Regions from separate parts of the Homo sapiens genome. Here regions 1 and 3 are each linked to region 2. Evidence: promoter capture Hi-C in 16 types of primary human blood cells and fetal thymus (Javierre and others, 2016). All regions are on one chromosome and are shown on one strand. Each heading gives the region's core, a stretch centred on a gene start or on the middle of the fragment in contact. The rest is flanking DNA. Distances are from core to core; before and after follow the strand shown. Region 1 overlaps ULK2 (unc-51 like autophagy activating kinase 2). Region 2 holds the start of SLC47A1 (solute carrier family 47 member 1). Region 3 has its middle 12 kb from the start of SLC47A2.

Region 1 (3,701 bases), core at 803-3,302, 250 kb before region 2:
GCATTTTTCACCTCTGGAATTTTTACTTGATTCTTTTAATTATTTCAGTCTGTGTTAGATTTATCTGATAGAATTCTGAATTTCTTCTCTATATTATCTTGAATTTCCTTGAGTTTCCTCAAAACAGCTATTTTGAATTCTCTGTCTGAAAGGTTATGTATCTGTTTCTCCATGATTGGTCCCTGGTGCCTTATTTAGTTCACTTGGTAAGTTCATGTTTTCCTGGCTGGTCTTGATGTAGATTTTTGTCCGTGTCTGGGCATTGACATGTTAGGTATTTATTGTTGTCTTCACAGCCTGGGCTTTGCAATCTGTACCCGTCCTTCTTGGGGAGACTTTCCAGGTATTTGACGGGACTTGGGCTCCAAGCCCAATAATGCTGTAGTTCTTGCAGACTCATTGACTTGGATAAGATCCAGAAGAATTCTATGGATTACCAGCTAGAGACTTTTGTTCTCTTCCCTAACTTTTTATCAAAAGGTGAACAACTAATGGCGTGTCTCTCTTTCTATGCTGAGCTACTTGGAGGTGGGGGTGGGGTGATGCAAACACCCCTGTGGCCACCACCACTGGAACTGCCTGGGTTAGACCTGAAGCCAGCACAGCCCTGGGTCTTGCCCAAGGCCCTCTTTAATCATTGCTTGGCTACTACCTATGTTCGCTCAAGCCCCAGGACTTACAATCAGCAGGTGGTGAAACCAGCCAGGTTTGTGTCCTTCCTTTCAGGGCAACAAGTACCCCAGGCACCAGGCATGTCCAGAGATGCTATCTAGGAGTCAGGGGTTGGAATAAAAAACCTTAGAAATCTACCTGGTATTGTATCCTACTGCAGCTAAGCTGCCACTCAAACCGCAAGACAAAGTCCTTCCCGGTCTTTCCTGCCCCTTCCACAGGCAGAGGAACCTATCCCTGTGGCTGTAACCACCAATGGCCCACAAGGAGTTCTGCCAGGCCACCACTGATGTTAACTTAAGGCCCAAGGGCTCTTCAGTCAGCATGTGCTGAGTGCTGCTAGGCCTAAGACCCACCCTTCAGGGCAGGTCCAGAAATGTCCAAGAGCCTAGGCCTAGACTTGGGAACCCCAAGAGCCTGCTTGGTGCTCTATCCCACTGTAATCAAGCTGCTACCTGAAGCCAGCATGTCTCAGAGTCTCACCCAAGGCCCAAGCATGCTCCCTGGGTAGTATTATTGGTTATTCAGGGCCCGAGGACTCTTCAGTCAGCAGGTGATGAATCCTGCCAGGACTGGGTCTTTTTTTTCAAGGCCAGTGAGTTCACTTCTGGCTCAGGGTGTGTTTAGAAATGTCAACAGGAACTAGGGCCTGGGATGGGGGTCTCACGACTCTGCCCGGGGCTCGTCCTACTGTGGCTGAGCCTAGTATCCAAGACATAAGAGAAAGCCCTTTTTACCTTTATCTCTTGTCCTCAAGCAGAAGGAAGGAGTCACTTTTGTTGCTGTGAGCTGCGCTGCCTGGGTTTGGGAGGAGGAGTGGCACAAACACTCCCTTAGAAGCCCTGTCTGATGTCTCTCTAAGTCATGCCCCAATCCACTGGCTTTAAGCCCAGCACGGCACCAGGATTTGGCTAGGAATTGCAGTCCTTGTGTCCTAGACTGCCTTTCAAGTTCACTTGGACCCGGAGCGCTTTAGCTTGTGGTGGTGAGGCTTGCAGAAACTCACATTCTGGCCACTCAGACAGGCACTTTCCCTCTAGCTACAGCTGGTCCAAATGCTCCCTCCGTGGGCGGACACCAGCTGAGTTCAGCATGGTTTTCCTTTGCACTGTGACAGGACAGCACTGAGTTCAATGTGCAATCCCCAAATTGCTGCACTCTCCCTCCCCCAAGTACACAGATTATTTCCTTGCCACACACAGCTGCTGCCAGGGGAGGGGCGGAGGGTGGTGCTGGTGATTCAAGACTGCCTTTCCTACCCTCTTCAGTGCCTCTTTCAGTGATATGAAGTTAAAACCAGGTACTGTGATTACTCACCTGATTTTTGGTTCTTATGAAGGTGCTTTATTGTGTGCAAATTTTTGGGAGGTGGGTTGTACAATTGGTGGAGCCTTCTATTTTGCCATCTTACTCTGGTTTGTAATTTTATGTCTTTGAAAAGAAGCTGAGATAAGAAAGCAAGTATGTATTTATAGTTTGTTATATTAACTTTCTTACTTATCATTTCTGGTTATCTTGGTGTGTTTTTGTGGATTTGAGTTACCATCTGGTGTCACTTCCTTACTCTAATATAGTTTTACTCCCATCTGACTCCTTTATGTTCTTATTATCAAATATATTTCTGGCTGGGTGCAGTGGCTCACGCCTGTAATCCCAACACTGTGGAAGGCCGAGGCAGGAGGATCACTTGAGCTCAGGAGTTCCAGGCTGCAGTGAGCTATGGTCACACCAGTGCCCTTCAGCCTGGGTGACAGGTGGAGACCCTGTCTCTAAAAAAATAAAAACTAAGGCTGGGCGCAGTGGCTCACGCCTGTAATCCCAGCAGTTTGAGAGGCCAAGGCGGGCGGATCACAAGGTCAAGAGATCGAGACCATCCTGGCCAACATGATGAAACCCTGTCTCTACTAAAAATACAAAAATTAGCTGGGCGTGGTGGCACGCACCTGTAATCCCAGCTACTCGAGAGGCTGAGGCAGGAGAATCAGGAGGCAGAGGTTGCAGTGAGCTGAGATCGTGCCAATGCACTCCAGCCTGGCGACAGAGTGAGATTCCGTCTCCAAAAAAAAAAAAAGTAAATAAATGAACATTACATTTCTATATGCTATAGACCTGACAGTGCAACTGTATACATGTTTTATACAGTTGCTTTTTAAAATCAGTTAACAGAAGAAATATACAGTTTGTGTTTTGTAATTATCTTTACAGATTGGGATTACTATTTGGAGTTAGTTACTTTTGGTCTGAAGAGCTATCCTTTGTATTTCTTGTAAGACAGGTCTGCTGGCAGTAAATTCTCTCAGCTTCTGTTTATTTGGGAATGTCTTTATTTTGATTTCTTTTCTTTCTTTTTTTTTTTTTTTTGAGACGGAGCCTCACTCTGTCACCCAGGCTGGAGTGCAGTGGCATGATCTCAGCTCACTGCAACCTCTGCCTCCTGGGTTCAAGAGATTCTCCTGACTCAGGCTCTTGAGTAGCTGGGATTACAGGCACGCATCACCATGCCCGGCAAAGTTTTGTATTTTTAGTAGAAACAGGGTTTCACCACGTTGGCCAGGCTGGTCTCGAACTCCTGACCTCAGGTGATCCACCCGCCTTGGCCTCCCAAAGTGCTGGGATTACAGGCATGAGCCACCACACCTACCCTAGTTTAACCTGTTTTTATTCCCAGTTCTTGGCGTTCATTTTTTTAGTACTGTCTTCAACATGTATAACTTACAGTTCATGTATTTTAGAAGTATACAAACATAACTCTGAATGCTAAATTTTGGTGTGAAGAAGATTCACACTTGAGATTACTATAAGTTATTTTAATGAAAATATTGTATTACGTTTTCTGATTTTAAGAGCAATAAGTACTTTTTGTAAGAAGAGGGAAAAAAAAAAAACCACTAGACTCCTGATATAAAAGTCAGTATCCCCCTGCAATCCCATCTCCCAGATATAAACACTATCAGGGTAATATGACCTTCTATAAACTTTTTGTTGTAGCTCCGGCAGGAGCCTGTGGTGGTGTTCTGGCACCTCCTGCA
Region 2 (3,924 bases), core at 1,273-3,772:
TCAGTCTAGTGCTCATCCCTGGAGACCTGGAGAGGTCCCCCACATCAAGGGGATCAGGCTACTGGGAGGGCTGGATTTCAGAAACCTGCCCTGTTATTATTATTATTATTATTATTATTATTGCTATACTATTAAAGCAATAACAGGCTGGGCAAGGTGGCTTATGCTTATAATCCCAGCTCTTGGGAGGCCGAGGCAGGAGGATTGCTTTAGCCCAGGAATTCAAGCAATGGGCAACACAGGGAGACCCTATCTCTAACCCAAAATACAAAAATTAGCCAGGCATGGTGGTGTGTGCCTGTAATCTCCGCTACTCCAGAAGTTGAGGCTGCAGTGAGCTGTGATCACACCACTGCACTCCAGCCTGGCCGACAGATCAAGACCCTGTCTCAAAAAATAATAATAATAATAAAACAATAATAGCCTTAGAAAGCCCCTTCTCACAGCAGCTCTGTGAGGGAGTGTTGAACCAAGACATGATTATTATCTCCATTTTACAAATGAATATGCAGAGACCAGAAGAGGTTAGGAGGCTGTTTCAATCTGCACAGCTGCTTCCTGACTTACTTTCGGAGGTCAAAGCAGGGCACGCAGCCCCAGGTCTTGAGATTCCAAATCATGAGGTGTTTTTTTGCCCAGGCTGGAGTGCAATGGCGCGATCTGGGCTCACTGCAACCTCCGCCTCCCGGGTTCAAGCGGTTCTCCTGCCTCAGCCTCCCAAGTAGCTGGAATTACAGGCGCCTGCCACCATGCCCAGCTAATTTTTATTTTTTATTTTTTGTATTTTTAGTATAGACGGGGTTTCACCAGGTTGGCCAGGATGGTCTCAATCTCTTGACCTCGTGATCCGCCTGCCTTGGCCTCCCAAAGTGCTGGGATTACAGACGTGAGCCACCACGCCCAGCCATGAGGTGTTTTTGTTTTGTTTTGTTTTGTTTTTTGAGACCAAGTCTTACTCTGTTGTTCAGGCTGGAGTGCAGTGGCACCATCCTGGCTCACTGTAACCTCCACTTCCCAGGTTCAAGCGATTCTCGTGCCTCAGCCTCTGGAGTAGCTGGCACTACAGGCGCCCGCCACCACGTCTGGCTAATTTTTGTATTTTTAGTAGAGACGGAGTTTCACCATATTGGCCAGGCTGGTCTCGAACTCCTGACCTCAAGTGATCCATCTGCCTCAGCCTCCCAAAGTGCTGGGATTACAGGCGTGAACCACCGCGCCCAGCCCCAAATCATGAGTTCTTTCTGGTCTGTGAGAAAGCATGGCTGATGGATCTTATTCCATGGCTTTGACCTCGGCATTACCCTTGCTGTCCTGCACACCACAGCGGGTGCCACAATATCCCACAAACTACCGAGCCCCCACTCCAGAGGCACAGCGGCCCCCCTCAGCCCGCGCAGGTGCAGAATGTGGGCCTCAAAGTCAAAAGCTTATTCACGCCTTAAGTGCATACCAGTTGCTTCTTGTGCCGCGTCCTACCCTCTCGGTTTGAAAACCACCCAAGCTGGCAGGAGAACGTGGATAGGATTGTGTTTTTGTGGTTTTTAAAACCACATTATTTTTAGGAGACAAGGCAGAAACAGCCCTAACCTAATGATTAAAAAGAAAAGAATCCCACAGATAAGAACACCTCGACCCCACAAAGAACCACATTAAAACCCCTTTTTTCTTTCACATACATAATTACTGGCGGGGAGGGGGTGGTACAGGATGCCTCTGGTTTCCTCGGTAGAGGTTGACTGAATTCTGAAGAAATCATTTCGCAGCTCTGAGTCCACGACAGACCACGCACCCCCTCCTCCGTGCCTCGGGATTATTTAGATCGCAGAGCTCCCGAACTTTTGACCGCTACTTTTCAAAGAAACAAGTTCCCTTGTGTTTTGAAGTTCAGGCAACTTGCGTTTTATTGGCCGGAATCAGCTCCCAGAGAAGGCACCCCCGGATGCAAATGCAGCCTGGACCTGGTAGAGCCCCGTTAGGGGCAAAGGTCCCAGCTCTCCGGTGTCTCCTGGCGCAGGAGGCTGGAGCCGCCGGCCTCTCCGAGCCAACATGCGCCCGGGCGCGTACCAGCCGTTCCCGCAGTGCCCCGCGGGGCCCCCAGTCGGGTGGTGCGGAGCGGAAAGCGGCCGGGACGCAGGCAGAGGAGCTGGGGTGCCCGCCCGGCTCCTGGCACGATGCTCCCCGGAGCCCGCCGGCGGACAGCTCGCTCGGTCCCCAAAGCCCGCCAAAGTCACCCGCGGAGGCAGAAATCACCAGGTCCCCAGCCCGCCGGTACCGGCCTGCCACTGAGGCCACCTTACTCACCGCGGGGCCAGCCAGGACCAAGAGCGCCCGCAGCTCTTCTCGGAAGGCGGACAGCCGCAAGCAGCGCGACCCACGGACCTCAAGGGTGGCCTCCGGGCCTCCGCGCACTGGCGCGGGCTCCTCAGGAGCTTCCATGTGACTCGCGCGCTGCGGCCGGGTAGCGCGGAGGCCGGCAGTGGGTACCGCGGAGGCCGGCAGTGAGTACCGCGCAGGCCGGCAGTGGGTACCGCGCAGTGCAGCCTGCTCTGCAGTCCCCGCCCCGGCCGCCCGCCCAGAGCCCGCCCCGCGCCTGGCGCCCGGGGGCCCGACTGAGCGCGCAGCCAGGCAGCCTGCGACCTTGGGCGCGCCCCTTGCACCTCTCTCTGCACCACTGCGGACGCCTGCGGGTCTTGCAAAGACCAAGGAACTCCTGCACTTGGAAGGCAAAGTTTGAAAAAGCTCTGTAAACTAACGGAACGCGCTCCGGGGGCTGGGTCCTCCACGTCTCGGACGCCAGGACTCACCCCGGCTCTCCACCTCCGCTGGGGGTTTCAGGTTCTGAATGACCTGGCGTGGAAGGACCCAGAGGCCTCGAGCCGTGACTCGGTTAGCACCCCGCGGGGTGTGTGGGGTTGGGCGCATTTGCTGTGCAGATTGAGTTGGGTACACCCTTTGATGCTGGTTAGGGTGTTGCATACTCCTCTCCTCTCATCAGTTGTTCCATTAGAGAACTTAGAATCTACCAGGATAGAGCAACATGCTCCCATTTGCCAAGTAGCACAGTTTGTGCCAGCTGGTCGTGTTGGAAGTTTATCCATCAAGCCTGCTGTGGGAGTACGAGAGGCTGCGGCCCAGAAGGGCAGGAGCAGCGCGCTTTCCTCCCAGAGCCTCAGCTTCCTCATCTGCAAACGTGAAAGAACACTCGTCGCCAGCTGTGAAGACTGGGGTTGCCTGGGCGGAGGACCGGAGTCAGTGCCACCTGCCCTCAGCCTGGCACCAGCCGTTACCTAATAAGTGTCAGTTACCAGGACAAGATTGATTTCTCTAATAGTCAAAATTCCTTCCGTTGTAATGATCCAATGTAAGTAGAGAAAATGGAAAACAAATTTTTTGGCTCACATAATCAGGAAGTTTGGATTCAGGGATTTGAAAACAAGGTCATTAGGCCAGGCGCGGTGGCTCACGCCTGTAATCCCAGCACTTTGGGAGGCCTAGGCGGGCGGATCACAAGGTCAAGAGATCGAGACCATCCTGGCCAACATGGTGAAACACCGTCTGTACCGAAAATTAGCTGTGCATGGTGGCGCGCGCCATAATCCCAGCTACTAGGGAGGCTGAGGCAGGAGAATTGCTTGAACCCGGGAGGCAGAGGTTGCAGTGAGCCGAGATCTCGCCACTGCACTCCAGCCTGGTGGCAGAGGGAGACTCCACTCAAAAAAAAAAAAAAAACAAAACCAGATCATTCTTGTTGTCCCTCTTCCCATCTCTGTCCCTCTCCTCCCTTCTCCTCGCCCCTTGGGATTCTTTCCGTAGTTTCTCTTCCTCCTCTGCCGGCAGCCTTTCTCTTCCTGTGCAAGTGACAGTGGTGGCCTCTGATACCCTCGTTCCTATCTTTCCCGTCTGTTAAACCAGAAAGTAAGGCCC
Region 3 (3,824 bases), core at 774-3,273, 190 kb before region 2:
GGGCTGAGACCGGCTTAGTAGGGAGATGATGCCCCTGGGCTGCTCTGGGATGTGAATGAGCTGCTGGAGCTGCCTTCCCTTTAACAAATTTTCTTTTCCTCAAGCCATTTTGCCATTTTGAAGCATTTCCCATTACTTACATCTGAGAGCCTCTTATCTCTCCTCCTCTTACCGCTTGGTGTACTCCTTGTTCCAGTGTCTCCTGAACAGGGCGGGCTTGTTCTCCTGAGACTTCTGCTTAGACCTCCCAGCACCTCCTCCCTCCAAGTCTCTTCCTCCCCAGGACTGCAGGGCGTCAGCAGGGCCTCCAGACTGTAGACACCCGCGCAACGCCAGTCTTTGTGCAGATCCCTGCGCACACACACCACCCACCTGAGGCCACCCTGCAACTGTGAAAGTCAAGAACTCCCTGTCGGCCGGGAGCGGTGGCTCACGCCTGTAATGCCAGCACTTTGGGAGGCTGAGGCGGGCGGATCACTTGAGGTCAGGAGTTTGAGTCCAGCCTGGCCAACATGGTGAAACCCCGTCTCTACTAAAAATACAAAATTAGCTGGGCGTGGTGCTGCACACCTGTAGTTCCAGTTATTTGGGAGGCTGAGGCAGGAGTATCGCTTGAACCTGGGAGCTGGAGGTTGCAATGAGCCGAGATCTTGCCATTGCACTCCAGCCTGGGCAACAAGAGCAAAACTCCATCTCAAACAAACAAAACCTTCCTGTCATGGGCTCAATCCAAGGGAAGCTGGGACTGGGAAGCTGGCACTGCCATCACCACTGTAACTGCTTCTTGACACTCACAGAAGCGGCTGCTGGATAAGAGATCACTAGTGCAGGAAACCCAGCAACCAAAGCAGCCAACTCTTTTTTTTTTTTTCTTTTTTTTGAGACAGAGTCTCCCTCTGTCACCCAGGCTGGAGTGCAGTGGCTTGATCTCAGCTCACCACAACCTCCGCCTCCTGGGTTCGAGTGATTCTCCTGCCTCAGCCTCCCCAGTAGCTGGGATTACAGGCGCCTGCCACCACGCCCGGCTAATTAATTTTTTTTTTTTTTTAGTAGAGACAGGGTTTCAGCATGTTGGTCAGGTTGGTCTCAAACTCCTGACCTTGTGATCTACCCTTCTCGGCCTCCCAAAGTGCTGGGATTACAGGCGTGAGCCACCGCGCCTGGCCCGAAGCAGCCAACTCTCACACAAGTGCATCTGAAGTGCAGAACTTCATTCTTCCCTGGAACCCTGCCCCAGGGGAGTCTGGGAAATGTGGGTTTTAGCTGCTGCTGCATAGAGAGCTGTGAGCAGGAGGTGGAAGGGAAGCTGAGGGCCAAGTGATCGATCATACCCAACCATGTGAACGTGGGTGGCTGGCCCACCCCCGGGCCTATCTTTCAGCTACTAATTGGTTACCTCAGTGTTTGCCTCCTAGGGTTGGTGTGGATTAAATGAGATTGTGCAGGTAAAGCACTTGCGCCTAATCGGGGGCTAATGAATATTAGTTCTTATTATTTCCAATACTTTTTCCTTCTAGCTCTGTGGTTCTCCAAGCCTGAGCTGCTCAGACCTCTGAAATGGGCCCCAGAGGTCACTGGAGAGTTTGCAGAAGGTTCAGAAAGAATAGTCCTGAGAGGGATGACCCAGGCCCCTGCCTGCCTGGACACACCACTGTCTGCGCCCAGGCCTCTCTCTCAGCTATGCCAAGCAGCCGCTGATTCTCCAGCCAAGGGTGTTATATAAGCTTCATCTTTTCCTTTGTTTACAGGAAATTTTGAAAACACCAACTGGGCTTGGCCTGAGCTCCTTCATTCCTAAAGGCAACAGAAATTGTTTGGGCAGGAGAGGCAGCCACACGCAAAGCAGCTGCCCTGGCACAGGGCCAGGCCTTGCAGGACAGGCAGCTGCTGGCAATCGTGAGGTCAGGCACTCTTGTCGTTCAGGGCCAGGATCTGCGGTGCCTGGGGGAAGCCGTGTACTTCTGGATGTGCAGCTTTCACCCACACCCATTGGGCCCTGCCTTGGTTTCCCTGCCTGATGCTGCAGTTCTCTGCCATGATGGCAGCTCTCCACCCTGCCAGACCCTGCCTCTGGGAGGCCTGGGATGACCTGGGAGCACTTTCTAGGGTTCTGCCAACAGCTCAGACAGATCTCAGCCTCTTAGCAGAGCAGGAGGAGTAGGAGGCACCTCAGCCTGGGTGGGGTGGGAGGACAAGGGCAGATGGGAAGGAGATATCCCCTCTTCTCTGCTTTGACCCACGCTTCTAAGTGGACAGGTGGGGGAAAGCTCACACCCTTCGTTTCCTCACATGACAATGGGGCTGTGCAGGTGCCAAGCTTCCCGAACAACTGCCTTGCCCATCCTAGGAAAGTTGCCTAGGCCTGGTCCCCGGGAACTGCTTTAATGGAACATCTTCTATTTGAGCCAGGGCCAGACATGATCTCACAAGTCCTCATGTGATCTGCTGGGAAACAAATGTTTGTTGCTGGTAACTTGTGCTTGAGCAAGACAACAGCTCTCTGTTTCCCAAGGCTTGTATGCCTGATAGAAGTTTACAGGGTAGCTGACTGGTAGAAATTGGCACCAGGAGTAGAAGTTTCTACCAGAAATTCCCAACTGGATTTTCTACACCTTCCCTACCTTGGGAAGGCAAAGGGGTGAGGACAGAGAGACCTAGCCCCGGCTAGACACCCTGACAGTAGGAAGGCTGGGCCTTCCTGACCATTCTGACACTGAGTTCTTTTTCAGGCCAACAGTTGCTAGACAGACAGAAAAAAATATTTTCTTTCTAGTTCTGCTCCTAAACCTGTGCTCACTATGATGTAAGTTGGAGAGGTTTTTCCATAAGCACACATACTGTTACTCCTCTATCCAGTGTCCATGGCAGACATTACAAGTTGATCACCGCACTCTTGTTTGCTTTGCTGAATCCGCTGAATTCACAATATAGCAATGCAGTACAACAGAGTAGAACTGGCAGGCTGGAGAAAAGCTATCTGTCATCCCAGATGAAGTAGAAAGGATGTGCACTTGGATAGGAGACAGACTCAGCCTCATATTCTGAGTCTGCCACTTTCTAGCAGTGTGACCTTGGGCAAGTACTTTCTTTCTCTGAGCTTCAATCCTGTCATTTGTAAAATGGGAATAAGTATATCTGCCTGAAAAGGTTGGCATTAAATGAGATTAAATGAGATGTGTCTCGTGCTGCACAATTAGCACATAATGGAGGCTCCGATTCCTACATATATCATTACATCATCACATACACTCCTACACACCATTCAGACGTATTCTGTGGGGAATTTGTAGAAATGAAAATGCTAAACGCCAAGCCAAAGTTTTCTTTCCAAGCCAAAGGAGTCATCTTCTCCTTCTCCCCCCCCTCCTCCTCGTTCTCCTCCTCTTACTCCTTCTTCAAAAATATTTGTTATGTAACAAAATGTGTTATGCAGATTATTTAACCTACTTAAGAAAAGAAACCTGAGAACTTTTACAGTGTTCATTGATATATAAGTAATGTCTGGGCTACTTACAAATGAGTTTCATCTAGTCTATGTCTTTAAGACATCAGGAGCCAAGGACCCAGAATTTTAGCATGAAAGAAAAAAGGACCATAACATTGGATAAATGTCTACTAGGTTCCAGACACTTACATCTATGTTAGCCTATCTCCTTCTTGTACCAATACTGTATGTCAGGTTTGTTTTTATTTGTATTTTAATCGTGATAAAATACACACAACATAAAATTTACCATCTTGGCTGGGTGAGGTAGCTCACACCTATTATCCCAGCACTTTGGGAGGCCCGGGGCGGGTGGATGGATCATTTGAGGTCAGGAGTT

Evidence for each region. The method cuts DNA at HindIII sites, captures the fragments that hold promoters and counts their contacts. A CHiCAGO score of 5 or more calls a contact.
Region 1: a contact is called between a fragment that was not itself captured here and the fragment with the promoter of SLC47A1 in region 2, in 8 of 17 cell types (total CD4 T cells, naive CD8 T cells, activated CD4 T cells and 5 more). The highest score is 6.0, in total CD4 T cells.
Region 3: a fragment that was not itself captured here is called in contact with the fragment with the promoter of SLC47A1 in region 2 in 15 of 17 cell types (megakaryocytes, total B cells, endothelial precursors and 12 more); the score reaches 11.6 in megakaryocytes.

The regions. Positions count from the first base shown.
Region 1 is chr17:19,786,046-19,789,746 of GRCh38, reverse strand. It overlaps ULK2 (unc-51 like autophagy activating kinase 2), which reads left to right. Exons shown (of 27, transcript NM_014683.4): 21 at 3,661-3,701. Among named protein-coding and RNA genes, the nearest start is that of ALDH3A1, 40 kb to the right of the region's middle. The HindIII fragment of the contact is 8,374 bases long and covers 1-3,701 here.
Region 2 is chr17:19,532,452-19,536,375 of GRCh38, reverse strand. It overlaps SLC47A1 (solute carrier family 47 member 1), which reads right to left and starts at 2,522. Exons shown (of 17, transcript NM_018242.3): 1 at 2,302-2,522. The coding sequence starts at 2,436. The HindIII fragment of the contact is 8,699 bases long and covers 1,429-3,924 here.
Region 3 is chr17:19,726,245-19,730,068 of GRCh38, reverse strand. No RefSeq gene overlaps it. Among named protein-coding and RNA genes, the nearest start is that of SLC47A2, 12 kb to the right of the region's middle. The HindIII fragment of the contact is 593 bases long and covers 1,727-2,319 here.